Regions from separate parts of the Homo sapiens genome. Here region 1 is linked to region 2. Evidence: promoter capture Hi-C in human tissues and cell types (Jung and others, 2019). All regions are on one chromosome and are shown on one strand. The core of a region is centred on a gene start or on the middle of the fragment in contact, and the rest is flanking DNA. Distances in the headings are between cores, read along the strand shown.

Evidence for each region. Contacts are between HindIII fragments. The study calls those that stand out against the background at their distance.
Region 1: a fragment that was not itself captured here is called in contact with the fragment with the promoter of RORA in region 2 in 1 of the 25 tissues and cell types used here (stomach).

What each region holds. Positions count from the first base shown.
Region 1 is chr15:61,658,593-61,663,882 of GRCh38, forward strand. The region is part of intron 1 of LOC107984782 (a long non-coding RNA gene); the gene reads right to left. Among named protein-coding and RNA genes, the nearest start is that of LINC02349, 69 kb to the right of the region's middle. The HindIII fragment of the contact is 5,187 bases long and covers 55-5,241 here.
Region 2 is chr15:61,226,447-61,231,640 of GRCh38, forward strand. It overlaps RORA (RAR related orphan receptor A), which reads right to left and starts at 2,856. Exons shown (of 11, transcript NM_134261.3): 1 at 2,607-2,856. The coding sequence starts at 2,772. The HindIII fragment of the contact is 14,135 bases long and covers 1-5,194 here.

The DNA of each region.
Region 1 (5,290 bases), core at 1,398-3,897, 430 kb after region 2:
GGTCTGACCATCCTATGTAGGCAATCTCTATTTTCACCTGGGCAGTTTCTAGGTTCCTTGGCCTGTAGTTTTGCTGTGATGCATTTTGGTGTAGATTTCTTTTATTTATCCTGCATGGAGTTTATTAGATATCCTGAATCAAAGGATCTGAGTCTTTCTTAGAAGTTGTTTATTCTCTATATCTTTTAGAGTTCTGCTTAGACCTCACCCTTGCCTCATTTGTCTTTTAACGTCTCTGTCATTTTCATGTCTTTTCCATTCTGTGCTGAATTTTGTGTATTTCTCTCAGTTTCAGTTCACTAATTTTCTCTTTGGCTGTGTCTATTCTGGTCTTGGGGGTCAAAGGAACTGGAAGATAGGGCCATTTAAGTTTTTATGCTTTTGTATTGAGATACAACTCACATAATGTACAAGTACAAATCTTTAAAGGGACAGCCTGATGACACTACAGGTGTACACACTCATGTAGCCACCATCTGTATCAAGATGTAGAACATCTCCAGCACCCCAGAGGCCCTCCCTCTAGCCACTTCTCAAACAGCACCCTACCACATGAGGTCACCTCTATTCTGACCACAATCAACCTAGATTAGCTTTGCTTGTTTTTGAACTTTCTATACATGGACTCATATAGTACATATGCTCTGTATCTGGCTTGTTTGGCTTCATATTTTGACTATGATGTTTATCCATGGTGTTGCATTAGCAATATTTTTCTCTTTTCATTGTGTTGTAACGTTCCATTATATGAATATATCACAATTTACTCCTTCTGCTATTGATGAATTTTTGCTTTTTTTTAGTTTAGGGCTATTATTTCACTGAATTTTTTATTTCAATTACTTTTTTATTTCTAGACATTCTATTTAGTACTTCTTCAGGTATGACAGGTCATTTTTGATAGCCTTTCACTCCTTATTCATATTTTTGCTTTCCTATTTTATTTCTTTAAATGTATTAAACATGTTAAACACTCAAGGTAATTATTTGCTGTTACTGGCTGTCTCTGTTGACTCTCACTCATGATGCTTTATTTTCTTGTATGTTTTGCCATTTCTGAGCTCATGCTCACTGGAACTCAGCCTATGAAAATTCTTTATGAATGAATCGAATCTGAGTTCCTTTAGAAATTTGTGTTCACTCCTGCTGAGTCTGCTTTAAATTTGAATTCTTCGCTTGTGGTTATTTAGACCATGCAAACACTGTGAATTCAGGCCTTGAACCTATGTTAAAGCTGGTATATTGCCACATTCTCCACCCTTCAATAGCCAGTTTAAATCAGTCAAGGTTCTTTGCCATCTGACTCTTTGGCATATACATTTTTTTCCAGTTCACTCTTTCCCTGAGAATGTTGTCCTTCATCGGTCCCAGCTTTACCACAGGATTACACCACTGGCTTCTCTCCCGAGTGAGGTCTTTTTATCTGCCTCCCTTACACATAGGCACAGCTACTGAAGCCAGAGCTCTTGATTAACCTGGAATTTATTGGTACTCAGCAACTTTGACCATCACTTACCTCTCCGGACTCCTACTCCCCTTACATTCTCAACCATGGGGAGTTTCTCTTGCTTTCTGGTATGCTTAACTTTTATTTTAAAATTATCATATATCAACATTTTGTTAAGTATATTTAGATAGTCTAGCTGTTTTGTCAAGCATATTTAGGTAGTTAAAAAACTAGTTCACTGTCTCTCCAGACCTAGTAGTCCGCTCAAGCTTTCTAATCTTCAGTTTTCACCAAGTCAAACAGAATGTCCTTTAATGTTTATCTTTCAAAATACCCCTTAAACATCTCCTCTCTGTTCTCCTGCCTCCCCACTCTACAATGTATTCCTCTCTTCTGGGTACTTCTTGGTATCTTTATCAAAGTTGTTATTTCATCCCACAGGCCTGCCTCTGTCACTGAATTCTACCAGATTTGAAGCTTCCACAGGTCAGGGCTGTGTATATGCCTGGCTCAGAACCAGCTACAGAACCTAGCCCAGAAGGAACTATACTAATGCTTATTGGAATGAACTCAGCTGATGGTTTAACAACAACAACAACATGTCCCTAGGGCACTGAATCCTGAAATCCTCAAACTCTCCTTAAAGGTATCTATGGAAACTGTAAGCAAACTGCATATGCAAAAGGGGCCTTTCCACGCAAGGTCTGTGGCATCAAAACTGCAATCAAAATCCAGAATTTGATGACACACAGCAGTAGCAGCAGTAAACACTGCTGAGCCTGGATGGATGCCATCATCTCATTCCCATGGAATCCGATCATTACATTTTTGTTTTCAGCCCCAAGTTTCAGGGTATGAAAGTATTATCATACTATTTCTTAAGATATTTACAAAGAGCTAAGGAATTTTTCCTGTTCTGGTGGATTTTATTATAATACCGACATTTATATTGAAATCACAGGAGGACAAGAAGTACTTTTGAAAAATTATTTTCACCAGACTCTTTATTGTGTTTCCCAGAATGGCCAGCATTGAGTAATGGGTTGTATCGTTATGTGTGTGTGGCTGGATACCAGATACTAAGGTCCTCAAAAACCCTACAGCATTTTCTTTCTTCATGAAATAAAATGGGACATAACATACGGTTGAGCAAAAAATAAACTACAGAAACCATTAATATGGTAACTAAATTGAATGTAAGCCTGAAATTTATTACCCAAGTGAGTTTGTAGGGTGATACCACCACAATCTTATTTCAAGGGTAAGCAAGATCAACTTAGGTGGTCCTTTAGAATGATAGTGATTGGAGAGGGTTGCAGATGACTTTATTGAGATATCTTAAGTGCTGCATAAATTCTAATGGATATATCAGCTTTTTCTTCAGGCCATGCCAGCCTGTGTGCACAAAAAATAATAATAATAAGGTAAAGATAATAGTACAATCAGTCATTCCACAGCTCAGCCCTCACTAGCTACTAGAATGCTGTCTCTGGTGAGTCCTCCTTTAGATTGAAGGGCTGGACATGGAGGGTGGGAAGGGGACAACTTAAGAGTGTATGGTCCCTGATGTGTCATGCCACCTTCTGGTACCATCTGATACCACGGTCACACCAAAGAGGTGTCTAACTGCTCCCAAGTAAAAGCTGAGTACCCAGTGCAACTTAACAAAAGATGCTTTCCTCCAGCATCCTTCCAAACCTGTGACTATGCAGCCGCTCTGCAGAGCCACTGTGGCTAACTTTTTAAAGCCTAGGTGGTAGATTATTCCTGCATTGCATCCAAGTTTTTCATGTGCCTGCATTACTCCCTTCAGCAGCCTCCTCCCACACTGACTCTCAGAGTGGTCATGTGACTTGCTTTGGCCATGGAGACAACAGCAGACTTTCAAAATGTGGAAACGTTAAAAGTACTTGCACACTGGGGTTTGTTCTCTCTCTTCTAGTTCTTGGAACTGTTCTCCCACCACAAGAATAAACCCAGATTAGCACCCTAGAAAAATGAAAGACCAAATGAATCATCCCCACTGAATATCCTATCAGACCAACAAGCCCCAGCAGATCTGGCAGCTGACTTTATACATAACCCAGCCAGGATCAAAAGAAGAATCACAAAGCTGAGCCCAGCCTGGTCTGCCAATTTACAGAATCATGAGCTAAATAAATGGTTGAGGGTTTAAGTCACGGGATATCAGGGTAGACTGTGAAAGCTAACTTATATAGCCTTTTACAAAGATGTAAAAAAATAAAATACGTTCATGGAATGGCTGGTAAAAGAGTTAAGAGTATGCAAAAAGCAAAACCCTAGACCTTATACAAGAGACTACAGACCCTTCAAGAGGCATAAGACCCAATAATTGGGTTATCATCTCGTTGGTGTAATTTCAAGAGGTTGTTATAAAGCCCATTTGTTCCAAATATCTCTCTCTCCAGTGAACCTCCTGTCTACATCAAAACTTGCTGAAATTCCCACGCAGTGTCCTGTAAAGGGGACAGGGCCACATAATAGTTAAGAGCTCTGGAATCAGACACTAAAATCAATACTGTATTCCTCCTCAGTTTCATCCTTTGCAAATCAGGGAGATAATAGCAGCTGCTTCATAGAGCTGTTGTTGTAAAGAGTAATAATGCCTATGTAGTGTTTGGTGCCATGCCCGACACGTATCAGTGCTCAAAAAATAAGCTTGTCTTATTAGATTGAGAGTTAATCCAAATAATTAGCAACCATTTATTACTTATCATAGGATAGGTATTACCCTTAATGCCTCTATGTATACTACGCCATTGAATCCTCATAATATCATTGTGAAGTGGCTATTACGCTCCCATCTTAGAGATGAGGAAACTGAGGCACAGAGGGATTAAGTAGCTTGCCTGGTGTTGCACAACTGGGAGGTGGCAGACACTGACCCCAATCCTCATGCTGTCTCCCAGCGCATCTTCGCTTAATAGTTAAGAGCTAAGTTCTAGTCTGTGTGCACTAGGAATTAAAGTCTCACTCTTTGAGATAGCAATTATAAAACCTTTACGAAATGTGGCTCCACACTGCGTTTTTATCATGTTAATAGGCTTTCAGTACTTTGTCTGTACTGGGCACTGCCTGGAATGTTTTCCCCACAATCCTCTCCCACCTCTTATTTAAAATAATTCTTATCATTTTAGGTGTAGTTCTGAAACTACTTCCTGGTAAAATGTTCTTAGATTTTCCTAGAGGATAAAGGTGTGAGTCCTGGAGTCAGACTATCTCTTCTGGAATCCCAGCTTCTACTACTGCCAGCTACTAATTGTGTGAACTTGGGCAAGACACAACCTCTCTACATCTTGGTTTCCTCATCTTTAAAATGTAAGAAATGATGCCATTTCACAGATATGGATGGACAAATAGATGGATAGATAGACAGGCAGCTAGCCAAGCACAGTGATTGCCTTAATCCAACCATGAGTTCTTACTCTAGGCATTTAAGCTCCCTGATGGAAATTCGGTTTGTTCAGTCATAGTTCAAACTTTAATGGGTTGGACCACATCGATAATTTTCAATGACTGTTGCTCAGTGTTTTACAATGACTCTCTTTTTTCAAACAAATTCATACATGGATACTAAAACATGAAACAGATTACCTGCAGAGTGGCTGTGCTTGAAAAGGGCTGTGAAAGGCAGATCTTAGCTTCCTTCCCCTAAGACTTCTCGGGCACCTCTGAGAAACCTGGAGAACACTTAGAGCCCCCAGCTGGACCTGCCCTTTTGTACTTCAGACTTCTCCTTAGAGAGGAGCCAGATCCCTGACTTCCCATCCCCCAGGTGAATCTTACTCCCAAAACTAACCTGTAAAACATGAATAAAGATAT
Region 2 (5,194 bases), core at 1,606-4,105:
CTGGATGCCAGCTCCAATTTTCTTACTGCTTACACTCTGGGAGCCGGCTTGCATATTCTGCCAACTCCATTACATCATCTGAAAACCCAAACATTTCCCATTTTCAAATCACTCTCAACTACCAGGCATACTTACACATTCTCTCTTTTTCTCCCTAGCTCACACACATAAAGATTGGTACCCCTGAGGAGCAGATGCTACATCTGAGGTTAAAGTCTGCAAATGCACATAATTTCTGGAAGCTATTACTACTGCTGTGTTAGCTAAAGGATGCCTCCATCTCTGACCTTCCTTTTTCCATTCAGACTGTTATATAACCTAGTGCCTGCGTGCAGGATGTGAGTTGAGTGTTTGGGCCTTACCACCCCCCTCCCATTAAATCTTCCAGGAGGGACAGACAGGGGCTGGTTCAAAGAATGAGTTGGGGTGGGGGCAGAGGGTGGGGGGAAGGGGATATGGGTCAGCAGGTCAGCTGTGCAAGATGTATCCCACTCCTACTATGCCCCTCTCCCCTTTTTGCTGAGCCTAAGGGGGCTGGTGGCACTGAATGCTCCGGCGTTACATAATTTGCAAGAACAGCAAGTTACGGATTTGCTAGTCGGCTCTGCAGCCTGCCACCCTGATCGCTTGCAAGAACACCTTCTGGCAAGAATGACACCTGAAGATGTTAATAACACAGGGTGTGGGGGGGTCAAGAAGGAGAAAGGTGGCAGCACAAACCAAAAATTAGTGCAGCTTCCTAAATACTATGTCCCCCCCATTCCAAAAAAAAAAAAAAAGCCCCAGAAACACATGAAGGGGATTTTCTCCAGTGTTTCTGATTAACCCTGTTACATAACCCGCTCGCATTCCAAATCCACCGTCTCAGGGTCTAAATATACTCTTTGCAGCCAAAAGCTCCCCGCACACAAACTCACCGAGCTAGCGGCAGGTCCAGGCCCCCAGCCCTCATCCCCTTCCCTTTTGTCCCAGCCCTCGCCGCCCCCCTCCCGCTGAAACCGCGGTTCGCCGCGGTCACCCTTTGGAAATCGCCTTTAATTAAATGTTTTTCGCGTGTGTCATCCTGATGGCTTTTACTGTACTCGAATTCCGTGAATGGGAAAGCGCCTGGACAGGGGGTGTGGCTAAGGTGGGGGGGGGGATACTGTAAAACAGCCAGCACATGATCAGCCATATTCCTACCTCCAACTACAACATCGAGAGGAAGGGAGCAGTTCCTGGGGCCCCCATTCGCCTCTACCCAGCCCTCCCCAACCGCCGCCAGAAGCCGAGTGCAAGAGGAGGGGGCGCGCTGGGCCGGTACCCAAGCCGGGGCTGGAGAAATCCTCTCCGTCCCCAGCTCCAGGCGGCTCGCGCGAGCACGCTTCCTCCGGAGTGACAGGCGCGATTTATACATTATTTACAACAGTAATTAAAGCTGTAGCTTCCTCCTGTTCTTTGCAAACTCCAGGCGCATTCAAATAAATAATCCCCCACTCTCGAGAAAAACACACATCAGGTTCCAATACCTTCAAGAAAGAGTGAGCTTTCCTCAACAGCTCACTTTAGGAAAGGAGGGAGCAACTGAGTCCCCCCCATCCCCCCCAACACACGCAGACACAGACCAAACACCAAAATGAAGAGTAAAAATCGCCAGGGGAGGAGAAAACATTGCTTGCACTATCCAACCAGCATACAACTTGCACTGACCATCCCCAGGTTCCTGCAGAAATGCTTGGAACCTCCGAGAGGGAAGGATTCCCAGAGCAGAAATAAGTTTCGGTGCTTGCTTTTGTAGACGCTCCCTCCGGATGCGCGTGGAGCGCCCCACAGGACCGCCGCCCTCTGCGCGTTGGCGCGCACACGCCCCCCGCCAGCCTGGGCGCCGGGCTCCGAACCCCCGGTCTGCAAACTTGCGCATCTCCCCTCGCCGCGCCCGCCAGACAACTTGGCGAACAGCTCGCCCGCCCGCACCCCGCTTCCTTCGGCCCTTCCTTCAAATCCCAAACGCACCGCCGTGCTCCAAAGAAGGTGTCCACGTCGCCCCCAGACCCCGGAGCGCCCCCTCTCCACCCCCGGGACTTCCCAGGTCGCTCACTCCTCCCGCCCCCCGCCCAGATCTGAGAGGGACCGAAAACACACCCCCGACTCGGGCAGCCAGGGCCGAAACTGTCAAGAGGAGAAAAGGTAAAGCGGAAGGAGGGTGGCCATAAACAGATTTTTTTGCCCCTTCTTAAAAGGACACTGCCGCTTTAAAAGTTTCTTTCCCGGGCCCCCACTCCCCGCATCTCCGTATTTTGGGGGAGCGTATTTAATTGAGGCAACGCAGCTTTCCTCCAGTGTTTGCAGAAAAATCAAAGCCAGGGGGGTGAGCCCGCCGGCTGTCAACCTTCCCGCCGCCTCCCCCGCCCCACTCTGCTCCCGCAAGCCGAGAACGGGCTGCAAAAGTTTGCAACATTTCTGGGGGGCGGAGGGGGGAGGGGAGGGGGGTCCTCCGGGCTCGGGGCGCCGCCGCAGGCTCGCGCGCGGCCGCCGGACCCCGCGCCCCGGGCGCCCGCTCCCGGCCGCCCCCCGCTCCGCGCCCGGGCTCCCGCCGCCCCCTCCCCAGCCCCTCTCCAGCCTCCTACCTCTGCTGGTGCTGGAATAGCTCTGTCTGCGCACCGGGGCAGGCGGCTCGCTCTTGCGGGCGGATTCCTGGTTCAGCGGGGTCTCCCTGGAGCCGGCGGCCGCGTCCGCGCCGCTGCTGCCTGGCTCGCTGGCGGCGGGGTCGGGGGCTGCCGGAGCTGACTCCATGTTTTTTCCCAATGTAGAGATCGCTGGAGATGGCGAGCTCCGAGACTCCCTCTATCTTCTGTTTTCAGAGCAACTCTATGGTACCAAAAAAAAAAAAAAAAAAAAAAAAAAAAAAAAAAAAAAAAAAAGAAGGAGAAGGCGACCGGCGAAAGCAGGAGGGAAAAAGCAGGCGGCGGCGGGCGGGCAAGCAAAAGCGCGAGGGAGCGCGCGGAGTGTCTGGGTGGACGTGTGTGTGCGCCCGAAAGGGGACAAGAGGCGGGTCTGGCCACAGGCAGCGCTAGCGAGAGCTTCTCCAGCCGGCCCCCACACCCACATTCCCCACCCTCCAGACCCCAGACCGAGAGCCACAGACTGGCTGCCAATTTTGGGAGGTGGGGAAAAGAGGGGAGGAGGAGAACAGAGCCTCCCGCGCCCCAATCCTCCCCTCTCCCCAGCCCAGGGACAGAAATTAAAATCGGTGAGATGATTCCGTGCCTACTTCTGAGACTCTCTCGGGAACAGAACTCGTCCCCATCCGCTGCCAGCTTGGGTAGAGACAAATCCGATTGTCCACGTCCACGTTGGGAAATCGCAGGTAGCCCCCTGCCAGCCCTGCCGAGGGCTGAGGAGAAACTAAAAAGGAATTAGAACGGGGCTGACATCCCAAGGAAGGCGGAGGATGGGAGGACGTGGCACTTTTTACTTTGGGATGGGACGGCCAGTGGGTTTCCAATCTTGGTTAAAGACATCTGTGTCTAAAACAGATTTTGTGAATCTAGAAGCGCCATGGACAGTTTCTGGCATGGTTGAAAGAGGTCGCTTTCAGCTCCTTTGCTGTTTGTCCGCGAAGGATCCAGAAACCATTTGGCAGGGCATTTTCTACTGAAGAAAACTTTGGCCTGTTTGGTCGACAACTATCTAAGCTGGATAAAACATGCCACGCTGCATCTAGCTCAAGCGTGGCTGCTAATTGTCAATTCCCACTGGTACTTTTCCTATTAAATGTACAGTCTCATCCATAAAAGGTAGATATACTGGAGAGGCATTACTAATGCCCGGATAACATTCAGATAATTAACAGCTCCTAATAATTCGTATTATTATAGGCATCATTCTACACCCTCCTCCCATTGAAATACATTCATCCCCTAGTAGGTACCTAAAACTCCAGGAAAGCAGATAATTGCATCATCGTTACCTTGACTGCAAACTCCAAGATGAAGGAACAATACAAATTGAAAGAATGGAAAATACTCCAATGGTAGTAGCCTGATTTGTCTGCCTTCATACTCAATCTACCACTTTCTTTTGCCTGCGAAGACACTGTGGAAATACGCCCCACCTTCCTTTCAAAAGGATCCAAAATTTTGACAATAAATAATATTATTAGAGGCCAGAAGGTGGCATAAATATATGTGCTTCAGAACGTGGGGTAGGCGGAGGGAATTGGGGGACATTTTTCTTTTGCTAACTTCCTGGTTTGGAAAAATGCTTTAAAAAATAGTAAGTGCGGGAAACCCAGTTAGCTAATCCTTCAGAGGAACCGCCATATGCCAAATTTCACACATAGTTTCTGTTACTGTTACTGATCTTGATCTTATTTCAAATACACAATGCCCTTTGCCATAGTCTGTGTACTAATCAGCAAAACCTGTGGTCCACTCTTCGGGGTGATGTAAATGAGATGTGAACAGTCCTGATACCTTAATCCTGTCTCTGCAAGGATCCCTGGCTTTAGCCTGTCTGTTGGCGCCTACAAACAATGCACAATTGTCTCCTCCATCCCAAATCAGACGTGTGGGTTTCCCCATACGTGAAAGCACAGATTTCCAGAGTAGCCTTCACAACATTTACCATTGGTTAGCCTGTTAGTAATGTTCTTGATGCAATTGACCTAGCTTGTTACACTTGACTTTTCTAAGGAAACAAATATATCAAAGTGTACAGTTTAAGAAACAACTTCCTCTGGGACAGTGAGCATCTCAGAATACATTGGCTGCCTCATGTTTATTTTAGAATACTTTAAAAAATACTCGTCACATTAAATTTCACCAGTAATTCTATCTGGGACGCAAGTGACTTAAAAAGTATCCCTGGTTTCCTTTTAGGTACCAGTAGCAACTTGTTAACATTTTTTATTAAGTCTGTTCCCCTTGGACCTTTAATGAGTTTCTTACTGTTCTCCTTTAACTAAGGTGATGTTTAGTCACCCTGAAAAGACCATCTAGAAAATAGTCATAATGACCTGAATCAATTAAAATAGACTCTATATTCCCTTCAGAAAAAGATCGCAGCTCCAAAAAGCCATTTCTCCTAACTCTCTAAGACAATTACTGCTTCTGCAATTTAAAACAATTGGGAACTCAAGTGCTTTCCCCAAGGGAAAAAATAAAAGTGAGTTAGATACATTCCTTGACTGTCAATCACTGTGACTAAAGTGTAA